3 separate regions of the Homo sapiens genome follow, and all the other regions are linked to region 1. The links are contacts of gene promoters, found by promoter capture Hi-C in blood cells and fetal thymus (Javierre and others, 2016). All regions are on one chromosome and are shown on one strand. The core of a region is centred on a gene start or on the middle of the fragment in contact, and the rest is flanking DNA. Distances in the headings are between cores, read along the strand shown.

Region 1 (3,736 bases), core at 3-2,502:
CCGAGGGCTGGGCTAGGGGTGGGGAAGAAGGGGAGACAGTAGCAGATAGCGCGGAAGAGGTTCCAGGGCCTCTCACTCCCACAGTGTCAATCCTCCCACCCCGACTGCCGGGAGGTGCCCAGAGAGAATGAAGAGAGGCAGGGCTGGTGCCTAGGAGGGTGCTGACCCTGCAGCACAGAAAACCCCTCACTGTTTCTGCAGCCCAACTCCCACCCAGCACAAGGTCTGCAGACACCTTCAGGGAATCCCCGCCCCCCACAGGGCGAAAACAGAGGCCTCCAGTCCAGACCCGATTTTGGATTTCAGATTCCTGATGGTGTCCCTCAACTACAGCAGAATCCTCAAGGCACATCTCCTTAGCCCAACAGGTCACCGCCCACTCCCCCCGGCCCCACCCAGCCTCCTTTCCCTCTGCTGCATTAACCCTCTGTCGCCTGTTGATGAGGGGTGGAGGGGGGCACTGCCCCTTTGGTCTTCCGGGGTGGAAAGAGAGAAGCAGCAGCATTCCCCAGACCCCTGCCTCCCCCAGAACTGGGACCTGCAGGGCTTCACGTGTCCTTCCACGTTCTTCCCAGGGCTCCGGCCTCCCACCCCCTGCCTGCCGCTCTGGAAAGTTCACCAGAGCCCAGGAAGCCCTTCAAGGCAGCGATGTGGCCCCACACTCTCGGGTCCTTTGGTCCCTGGAGACTCCTGACCCTTGCCCTTCCCAGAATGAAGGGAGCTTAGAAAGCGCCTGGTTCCGGACTGGGTGGAAAACTTTGCTTTGTAGGGTTCAGACGGGAGCCCAGGGGCCAAAGTGATCCCAGATGGAGACTCCCTAAGGGGGCGCGGGGTCTGAGATTGCAAAATAACCCTCCCTCTCAAGCACCTGGAACTTACGAGTGGCCTTTCGAGGGCACCCCCCACCCCTCAACACACAACACAGTATCACACAGATCACGCCTCGTGATCTCTGCTCTCCCCTCGCCGCTCCGGTATTTCCCTCCAACCTCTCGCCTCAGGGCAAAAGCAAAACTGCGCCTTTAAGAGCCGTTCCGCTTACCTTTGCTCCTTATACCCGGCGCCGCGGTGCCCGCTCCTCCGACCTCCCCCTTCCTCCCAGGCGCACCGCCCGCGGGACTCACAGCGCGTGTCCTGGGGGCCGCGGTGCGCCCGCTCCCTCCCGGGCACGGGGCAGCTTCCCCTGCTCCGGAAAGGTGAGCAGTTCCCCAGAGAAGCTGCAACCTGAGCTGGCCGAGGAGGAGGTAGAAGGGGAGGGGAAGGGAGGGAGTGGAGGAAGGTGGGGAAGAGGAGGGAGGAGGAGGAGGAGGAGGAGGAGGAAGGAAAATGCCCGGCCCCCGCCAGAGTTTTTCACATGTACAAGTTGACTCCGCCCCCGGCCCTCCCGCCCTGCCCACAGCCGCTACCAATCCCCAGGGCTCCCTCTGCCCGGGTGCCCACCCCTTTCTCCCACTCTGGGAACCAGGGTCCAAGTGCCTCTTCCTGTTTCGTTTCTAAAACCGGCCCTGAGAGCCTTGGCTAGGGGATGAGGCCTTCTGGACTGGATCACCCCAGGACACCAAGGCGCCAGGGGTACACTGAGAGTGCCTGCCTGTCTCTAAAAGCGGTGCTCCTACCTCTCCTAGGTACCTCCCTGTACCTGGCGCCCTAGGAACGAATGTGCATGGACAGATTTTGGTGGTCATTTTCTTGACAATAGTAGCCCTCGGGCTCCCCTTCTACCCTATCCAGTGGGACTTGTCACTTACCTTTCCGGACAAAGTTCCCACCTCTCCAGGACCTGAATGAAGCCCTTGTTACCAGCCATCATTCACATTTCCCTCCCCGAAGGATAATTCAACTTGTCCTTTTGGAATTAAACTCCACAGGATATTTGAGAATCATCCAAGAAGGGTTACAGAATGGCTAGTTCAGCTAGTGGCACTCTCATTTTACAGAAGGGGAAACTGAGGCCCAGCAAAGCAATTGAACTGGCCTAAAGTGCCACAAGAGTTCATGGCGAGCCATGATTAGAACTCAGGCCAATGGCCATTGCACCCACATCATCTGACTTCAAGGATCAAAAAAAAAAACAAAACAAAAATCTGGGGATGGGGGTGAAGGGCACAGTGCCCCACCGCCAGGCCCCTCTCATCTCTGCTTCCTCCTGAGGGCTGTGAGGAGAGGAGGTGTGCCTTGGCTCTATGGCACCTCATCAAGGCAGTCTGTGTCCCCTGCCCTACCAGAGGGCTTGGCTGCTGCAGTCTGGGGTCTCCCACAGGGAAAGTCTCCTTAGGAGGGGGTGCTCCACAGTGTACATGTGCTTCTACCTGAACCCTTTCCCTGGGGACTGTGAGTTGTTGAGAATAGAACAGTTTCCTTCTGGAAGACATGGGCCTGAGGTCCCACTGTCAGCTGGAGACAGGAGAATGAAGGAAGACACTGGGCCCATGCATGAAAGTGACCTGTGGGTAGTTGACATCTCACAGAGGGCCTCCCAACTCTTTTTTTTTTTTTTACCTCGCTTTCTCTGCCAAGGCATGCAGATTTCCTGGGCACAGCACTTCCTAAAAATGAAACTGCCAAGTGTTGTCGGGGTGCATGGATCCAGAGCCTTTAGGTGTGCAGCAACCTCCTGGCTCTGTAGTCCAGTGGATGGTGAGAAGCCTGGGGAGCAGGAGGCCATAAAGAGGTTTGGAAGGGGCAGGGAGGGAAAGGGAGAAGGACTATGGCCAAGGAACTGTTTACTGGCGGATTAGAGAGAGTGGGGCCAAAGGGTAGAATTTCAAGGAACTAGGGGGGTGAAGTCAAGAGGTCTCCACAAACACTTTCTCAACATCTCTTATGTGCCAAATGATAGCCAGGGCTCTGGGCACATAAGATGAGTATAACCCAGTCCCTGCCTTCAAGAAGCTCTTGGTGTAATGCGGCAGGGAAGCAAACAGTTAGGATGCTATAGGAGGAGGCTTAGTGTTACGGATGCCTGGGAGGAGCTATTCTGCTTGAGGTGAGGGTTACAGGATGAGGGGACAAGAGAGAGGAGGAAGGATTTTCCCTGTTTTTTCCAGGAGGGGTAATCCCTTGTGCAGAGTGCAGGGGTGACAGAATATGGACCCACAGTTCCATGAGGTCAGAACTTAAAGTCTGGGGTGGAGGTGACACTGTAGAGGCAGGCAGGTGCTGGGTCCTGAAGACCCCCAACGTGGAGGCTGATCCTAGTGGAAAATGAGAATGAGCTTAGACCACACAGCGGCAGCAGGGAGGAGAGGAGGGAACTGATTTGAGAGATAGGTAGGAGACAGGGTCATGGAGCCTTGTGACTATTGGATTCTAGAAGATAAGGGAGCCAACAGTGTCAAGATTAGAAGCACTGATGTGATAGGCTGAGTGGGACCTTGGAGCTTCTTAAGTGAGCCTTGATTCCCAGCACCTCCTTAGATTGCTCTGTGAACTTGGGCAAGCGAACTAAGCTTTCTGAGGCCATCTGTAGAACAAAGTTGCTAAAATCAATCTTGTATGGTTGTTGTACATATTAGGGTAATGTATGCTAAGGGCCTGGCATAGGACTTGGCTCATAATGGAGAACTCAATAGATAGTAAATATAATTACCATCATTCATGCATTCAACAAACATTTATTGAACACCTGCTATGTGACAAGGACTATACTGGATCCTTGCATTGGATAGATGATTTTAAGTCTCAGTTCCTATTCTCATGTAGTTCACTGTTCAGGTGGAGAAAGATATGCAGAGGC
Region 2 (3,231 bases), core at 623-3,122, 140 kb after region 1:
TATACCTAGTCCCATGACGTTTTCAGGGAATACCCTTGTATAACTTAAGGTGCTAGAATTAAGGATGGTCTGTGGTCACACACTAAAGTTGCTAATCATCCAACCTTACTAGTATAAGTCACATTAATTAAAAGCTTATTATAGGCTGGGTGCGCTGGCTCACGCCTGTAATCTCAGCACTTTGGGAGGCTAAGGCGGGAGGATCACTGGAGCCCAGGAGATTGAGACCAGCCTAGGCAACATAAAAAAAATAATAATAAAGCTTATATGCCTGGAATTGTGCTAAGTATTTTACACACATTATTTCATTTAATCCTCTCAACAGTCCTGTGAAATAGGTACTATAATAATCCGATTTTACAGATGAAGAAACTGAGACTCAGAAAGTTGATTTATTCAGGGTCAAGCAGAGAACTAGGATATGAACCCATATCTATCTGATGCTCAAGGCTTTGCTCTTTAAAAAGAAACACAGCTTTGTCGAGAAATAATTCACACACCACACAATTCAGCCATTTAAAATGTACAATTCAATGGCTTTTGCCAAATGGATTTGTGCAACCCTCACCACAATCAATTTTAGAACATTTTATCAGCCCTAAAAGAAATCCTGTCAACTGATGAATAGATAAATAAAACATGGAATATTCATACAATGAAATATTGTTAGGCAAAAAAGAAAGTACTGATACATGCTACAACGTATCTATTTTTTCCTTTTGTTGCTTGCGCTTTCCTGTCATATCTAAGAAAACATTGCCTACTCCAAGGTCATTAAGATTTATGCTTATGTTTTCTCCGGAGAGTTGTATAGTTTTAGCTCTTACATTTAGGTCTTTGAAGCTCTTTCTCGAAACCACTATGCTTTACTGTTTTGTGTGTGCATAAAGACACAAATACAGTCATAACCCATGGATGAGAGAGAAGCATGAAACGCCTGAGTAATTGGCATTTGGGGTTATCTCTGGATTTTAATGATCTGTTTTTCTCCTGCTCCAACTATGCTTGTAATTAAGAGTCAAATCACTTGATCATGTCCTGAATATATTCTAAAATCTCGCTTTGCAAAAACATCTTACATTCCCATTTCCATGACCCTAATTTAGGTCCTCATCTTCTCACCAGTAGGCTATTTTGATAATCTTCTAAGTAGGCCAAGTTCTTCTCTGATGAAATGCACCTCCCTTTATTGAAATCAATTGCTTGTTAATTTATTCATAAGCTTCACTAAGAGAGGAACTATACATTTCTTTTTCACCATCATGCCCCTGGTGTTTAGCATTGTGTCTGGCACATAGTGGGTGCCCCACAAATAATCACAAAGGAAGACTATGTGATCTCCTTATCATGAAACTCTTCTCCTGGACTAAACACTGTTTATGCTGCTGCCAGATTAATATTCCAAACACTGCTCTGATCACTTCACTTCTTGGCTCAAAAACTTTCAAGGTCTCTCTACTGCCTTCTGAGAAGCGCCGCTCTTTTTTTTTTTTTTTTTTTAAGAGACATGGTCTCACTCTATCTCCCAGGTTAGAATGCAATGATGTGTGATCATAGCTCACTGCAGCCTTGAACTCCTGGGCTCAAGTGATCCTCTTGCCTCAGCCTCCTGAGCAGCTAGGACTACACGCACATTTAACTGTCCCTGGCTAATTTTTTTTGATAGAGATTGGGGGTGGGAGGTGTTGCAGGTGTCTCACTATGGTGCCCAGGCTTGTCTAAAACTCCTGGCTTCAAGCATTTTCCTGCCTCAGTCTCCCAAGAGCTGGGATTACAGGTGTCAACCACTGTGCCTAGTCCTCTGACATGACATCCAAGCAAGGGCTGCCATTCCCAGTTCCTTTCAGAACTCACAAGGCAACTTTGGAGTTGGGCAGGCTGCAGGAAACTCCAAGTATGAGAGTGGTCATTTGCTCTTGTCATGAGGTTGCCAGATTCAGGAAATAAAAATGTTGGGCCGGGCGTGGTGGCTCATGCTTGTAATCCCAGCACTTTGGAAGGCTGAGGTGGGAGGTTCAATCGAGTCCAGGAGTTCAAGACCAGCCTGGGCAACAAAGTGAGATCCCAACTCTACCAAAAACAAAGAGAAATTTCTAGGAATAATAGACGGGGTAAAAAATAGACAGTGGGTAAAAGATACTCACTTAAATCTTAATTTTAAACAACAAATCGTTTTTTGGGATATCCTAAATATTCAGATTTAACTGGGCATCCTCTGTTGTATCTGGTAGCCCTACAGTTAGTCTCAACCACATTCCAGTCTGCAACATCGATGCACTGTATCTTCTTGGAATGCCCCCGACTCATTTTGACCCAAATCTGACACCTCTTCAAAGGCCCTGCTCAAAGACCCTCTCTCCCACAAGGTCTTCTCTGGCATCCTCTGATAGTTATGATTACTTCTTCCTCTCCACTCCCAAAGCGCAAAGAGCAGACCCATTGTGTGTCCCGTAACACATGCTTCCTTCCACTCTGCAGAGGCTAGCCTTGTGTCTTAACCCTGCCTGAGCCTGGAAGCTTCCTGAGCACCAGACCAATGTGCTCTGCCAGCTCATGCTGCGTACTCAGGAGGTGCCATTAGCTGGTTGTTAAATGAATATGTAAGACTCGATTGTCCTAAATCAGAACTACTTTCTATTTTTATTTTCACAGTGGACTTTTCTCCCTAAAGTTCTAGGATCAGTGGGACATGGGCATCACAGGCAAATTACGTGGCTTCTAAGAGACTGAATCTGAAATCTTCTAATTTAGGAGAAAGGAAGGAAATGTGAATCTTTTTCTTCTCTGAACAAGGAAATAAGAATTTGTTAAAAAAAAAAAGATTGAGCATTGACAATTACTGATTACAAAATAAAATAATATTATAGTTTTAAATAAAAACATCTCCATGTGAACAAACTTCGCTTTGTATTTTAGTATCTGTTTGAGTAGGTTTGTACTGCAAAGCGGAAAAATGAAATCTCCCAGGCACCATTTGCCAAGGGATTTGCTCCCCTTCTTTGTCTGTTCAGATTAATCCGAGAGTGGCTGAGAGCTGCCCATTTTATCTCTGGGTTGAGGCAAAAGGGAGCAGTGTTTTCCAAAATAGCCCATGAGATGGCTGGACTCCCTCAGACAGGATTTGGGGGAGGACAAAGGAACCATGTGGGCATTTTATGTAGAGTATCTGGACCGGGTGCCCTGTCATTTGGAAGGCATCTGTTCCTGCCATTTGCACATCTTCCGGTAATC
Region 3 (3,292 bases), core at 285-2,784, 240 kb after region 1:
ACTATAATAATTTTTTTTTTTTTGAGACGGGTTCTCACTCCATGGCCTAGACTGGAGTGCAATGGCATGATCGTGGATCACTGTAGTCTCGACGTCCCAGGCTTAAGCAATCCTCCCACCTCAGCTTCCTAAGTAGCTGGGGCCACAGGCATGAGTCACCAAGCCCAGCCCCTAGTAATTTTTAGAAAGGAAATAAGTGGGCTGCACACAGCGGCTCACACCTGTGGTCCCAGCACTTTTGGAGGCCAAAATGGGAAAATTGCTTGAGTCCAGGAGTTTAAGACCAGCCTGGGCAACACAGCAAGACCTGTCTCTACAAAAAATAAAAAAACAGCCAGGTGTGGTGGTGCATGCCTGTAGTCCCAGCTACTCAGGAAGCTGAGGCAGGAGGATGGCTTGAGCCCAGGAGTTCGAGGCTGCAGTGAGCTATGATCACACACACCACTGCACTCCAGCCTGGGCAACAGAGTGAGACCCTGCTTCAAAAAAAAAAAAAAAAAAAAAAGGAAATAAGTGTTGGTGAGCATGTGCAGGAATTGGAAGCTTTGTGCAACATACCTAAAACATAAAACAGCACAGCTGATGTGGAAAACAGTTTGGGAGTTCCTCAAAAAGTTAACATAGAATTACTTTATGACCCAGCAATTCCACTCCTAGATATTTTCAATTCCCAAACGAATTGAAAATGAGTATTCAACACTCATTTGTACACAAATGCTCATAGCAGCAATATTCACAATAGCCAAAAGGTGGACATAACTCAGATGTCCATTAACTGATGAATGGGTCAACAAAATGTGACATTTCTTGCAATGAAATACTATTCGGCCATGAAAGAAACAAAGTGCCGGTAATGCTCCAACATGGGTGAACCTCAATAATGTTAGGCTAAGTGAAACAAACCAGACAAGAAAGGCCACATAATGAATGATTCCATTATATGAAATATCCAGAACAGTTAAATCCACAGAGACAGAAAGCTGATTAGTGGCTGCCAGGGGGCTGGGGTGGGGGTGGGGGAAGGAATGGGGAGTAACAGCTTAATGGGTACAGGGTTTCCTTGGGGTTGCTGAAAATGTTTAGGAACTAGATGGAGGTGATGTTTCAACAATTGGGTGTGGAAGGCCAGGGTCCTCCACTGGCCTGGGCCACAGCTCCCACCATTGTCCATTACAGAGTGGGTATGCAGGAGGGTCTCTGGGTCCTTCAGCTCACTGTGTCAGGTTTAGTAGGGTAGCAGCTCTTCCTAACACACTCCTAATACCCCTGTCGTGCAGCTGGTTGACTAAAAAGACCAGATCACTCAACTCCCAGTCAGTAGCAGGCAGAAATGCCCAAGGTTCCCCAGCCCAAAGCAGGGCACAGGTGGGCTACACAGGAACCACTGCTCCTCTCTCCAGACCATCACAGAGTCCTGTTTGGCCCATGCCACCCAGCTCCCTATCCATGCCCAGCCACCAGCACCACACCTGGAGTTGTGGCCCCCACACCATGACCTCCTCACCCCACCCCAACCTGCCTGAGATAGGCTGGCCACTCCACAGGTACCTGACTCCAGATTAATCCTTGTGAATGGGCTGGGCAAGCTCTAAGAGGAGAACCGTGGAGGGAGAGTCATACTTCTTCCATGATCCCCCTCCACACCAGAATGCCCCCTGCTCAGGGACCCTACCAGCCAGGGCCTTACATCTTGCTCTACACAAAGGCTGAGGGCTGAGAAGTGCTGACAAATGTCTGGATAAGCCAGAGCTGGGACGTTCTCTCAAGTGTCCAAGACCCAACTTTCCCTATTCCTCTTCCTGCTCCAGTGAGATCTACCCTCAGCCCACGCACACCTGGGGGCTCCCCTCCACATGGCCTTGGTGGCACCCCGGACTCACCTCCCTGGCCCCTTTCACAACACTAAATGAAGCTGGATTAGGCTCTCTGCCAGATTATAAGGAGCTGCCGGATCAGGGCTTCCCAGCCCTGGCTCCCGTGGAACTTCCTGGGGTTTCCACCTCCTCCCAGGGCCTGAACTCAGTGTCCTCGTGTCAACCCGGCCCTGGACATGGGACACCGGTGCTTCCTCTCACACACTAGCCCAGCAGCCTGGATCCCCGATATCCGGGAGGCACACAGTAGACACTGTTGGAACAGAAAGTATCCAGGCTTAAGTGAAGCTGTGTGGAGGGAGGGGAAGGGCACTAGCTATGTAAATTGGGAAATGTGAATCGTGGTTCTCTTTCTTCATAATGTAAATGCATTAAGCAGTTTTCAAGATAGACCACAGAAACAGCTGCCATTTGCAAGGAACATGTGCTCCACACCTGTGCTCCCAGCTGCACGAGAAAGCTGTACCTCTGACCCTCCTCCCTCTGAGGCAGGCAGCCCCTTCCCAGACTCGCAAAGAACCCGTTAGGGTCCCCACAGCAGGCTGACAGGGAGAAAGGGGCCTTCTCATGTTAGCCATCTGCTCAGGAGTTGGAAAGACAATATAAGGTCACTCTTAGATGGAAAAAAAAAAAAGACAAAGAAAAAGCTTTGGGGGTTCCTATGCTTCCCTTTAGGAAAGCAGGGCAGCCCAGTCATCCTGACAATGGAGTCAGGTGTCAACCCTGGCTTGTCTATGGGTCTAGACAAGCAGGCCCAGGCCTGTGCAGAACACCGCTCCTGGGAGCAAGGTCTGGGCTCCCAGTGGGTCAGAGCCCAGCAGGCGAGTGCGGCCCCGGGGCTGGCAGGCCTGGGTGACTCAGCAGAGATGCTTCAATCTGCTGACTGCTGCCCCGTGACTCTGATTTCAGTGGCCCTCTCGGGATAAAGAACGCTCAGATTCCCTTTTTCTACCCATTCTCAGATGGAAGGGGAGGTCAACCAGACTAGGATGGAGAGGAAAGCCTACAGCCAGCTAAAATCCTTCAACCCAAAGAGGTCATGTGACCTTACGGTAAAGTTGGGAGAGAAGGAACTTGAAATTTCTTGTACCAACCCAACATTCCAGCAAGAGCAGGGTGGAAAAATTATTCCAACCCTTGGTCCTGAAGTCAGAGGCTTTCCCCATTCCATTTTTTCAACTCAGCAGGAATAGCCCGGTGGGGCTGGTGGCTCTCTGCCTTCCTGGTGAGGATATGTGGGTAACAGGAAGCTGCTCACTCCAGCTCTGGATGTGTCATCACAGCTGACCCGGGTGCTCCCAGGTGGGCAAAGGGGTGGGGGTGGAGAAAGAGCCTACCTATCGGTTTAATTGGTGCCTGGGAGCCTAAGCGGCTTTTCTCAAGAGGGCAGGCACCACGTGCTCAGACACTGAATGGGA

The links. The method cuts DNA at HindIII sites, captures the fragments that hold promoters and counts their contacts. A CHiCAGO score of 5 or more calls a contact.
Region 2: a fragment that was not itself captured here is called in contact with the fragment with the promoter of CDK18 in region 1 in 6 of 17 cell types (endothelial precursors, total CD8 T cells, naive B cells and 3 more); the score reaches 8.4 in endothelial precursors.
Region 3: a contact is called between a fragment that was not itself captured here and the fragment with the promoter of CDK18 in region 1, in 2 of 17 cell types (naive B cells and total B cells). The highest score is 5.4, in naive B cells.

Annotation. Positions count from the first base shown.
Region 1 is chr1:205,502,185-205,505,920 of GRCh38, reverse strand. CDK18 (cyclin dependent kinase 18) reads right to left here and starts at 1,252. Exons shown (of 16, transcript NM_212502.3): 1 at 1,125-1,252. The HindIII fragment of the contact is 14,965 bases long and covers 1-3,451 here.
Region 2 is chr1:205,360,367-205,363,597 of GRCh38, reverse strand. No RefSeq gene overlaps it. Among named protein-coding and RNA genes, the nearest start is that of KLHDC8A, 5.1 kb to the right of the region's middle. The HindIII fragment of the contact is 1,295 bases long and covers 1,225-2,519 here.
Region 3 is chr1:205,258,410-205,261,701 of GRCh38, reverse strand. All of the region lies in intron 2 of TMCC2 (transmembrane and coiled-coil domain family 2), which reads right to left. Among named protein-coding and RNA genes, the nearest start is that of TMCC2-AS1, 23 kb to the right of the region's middle. The HindIII fragment of the contact is 1,978 bases long and covers 546-2,523 here.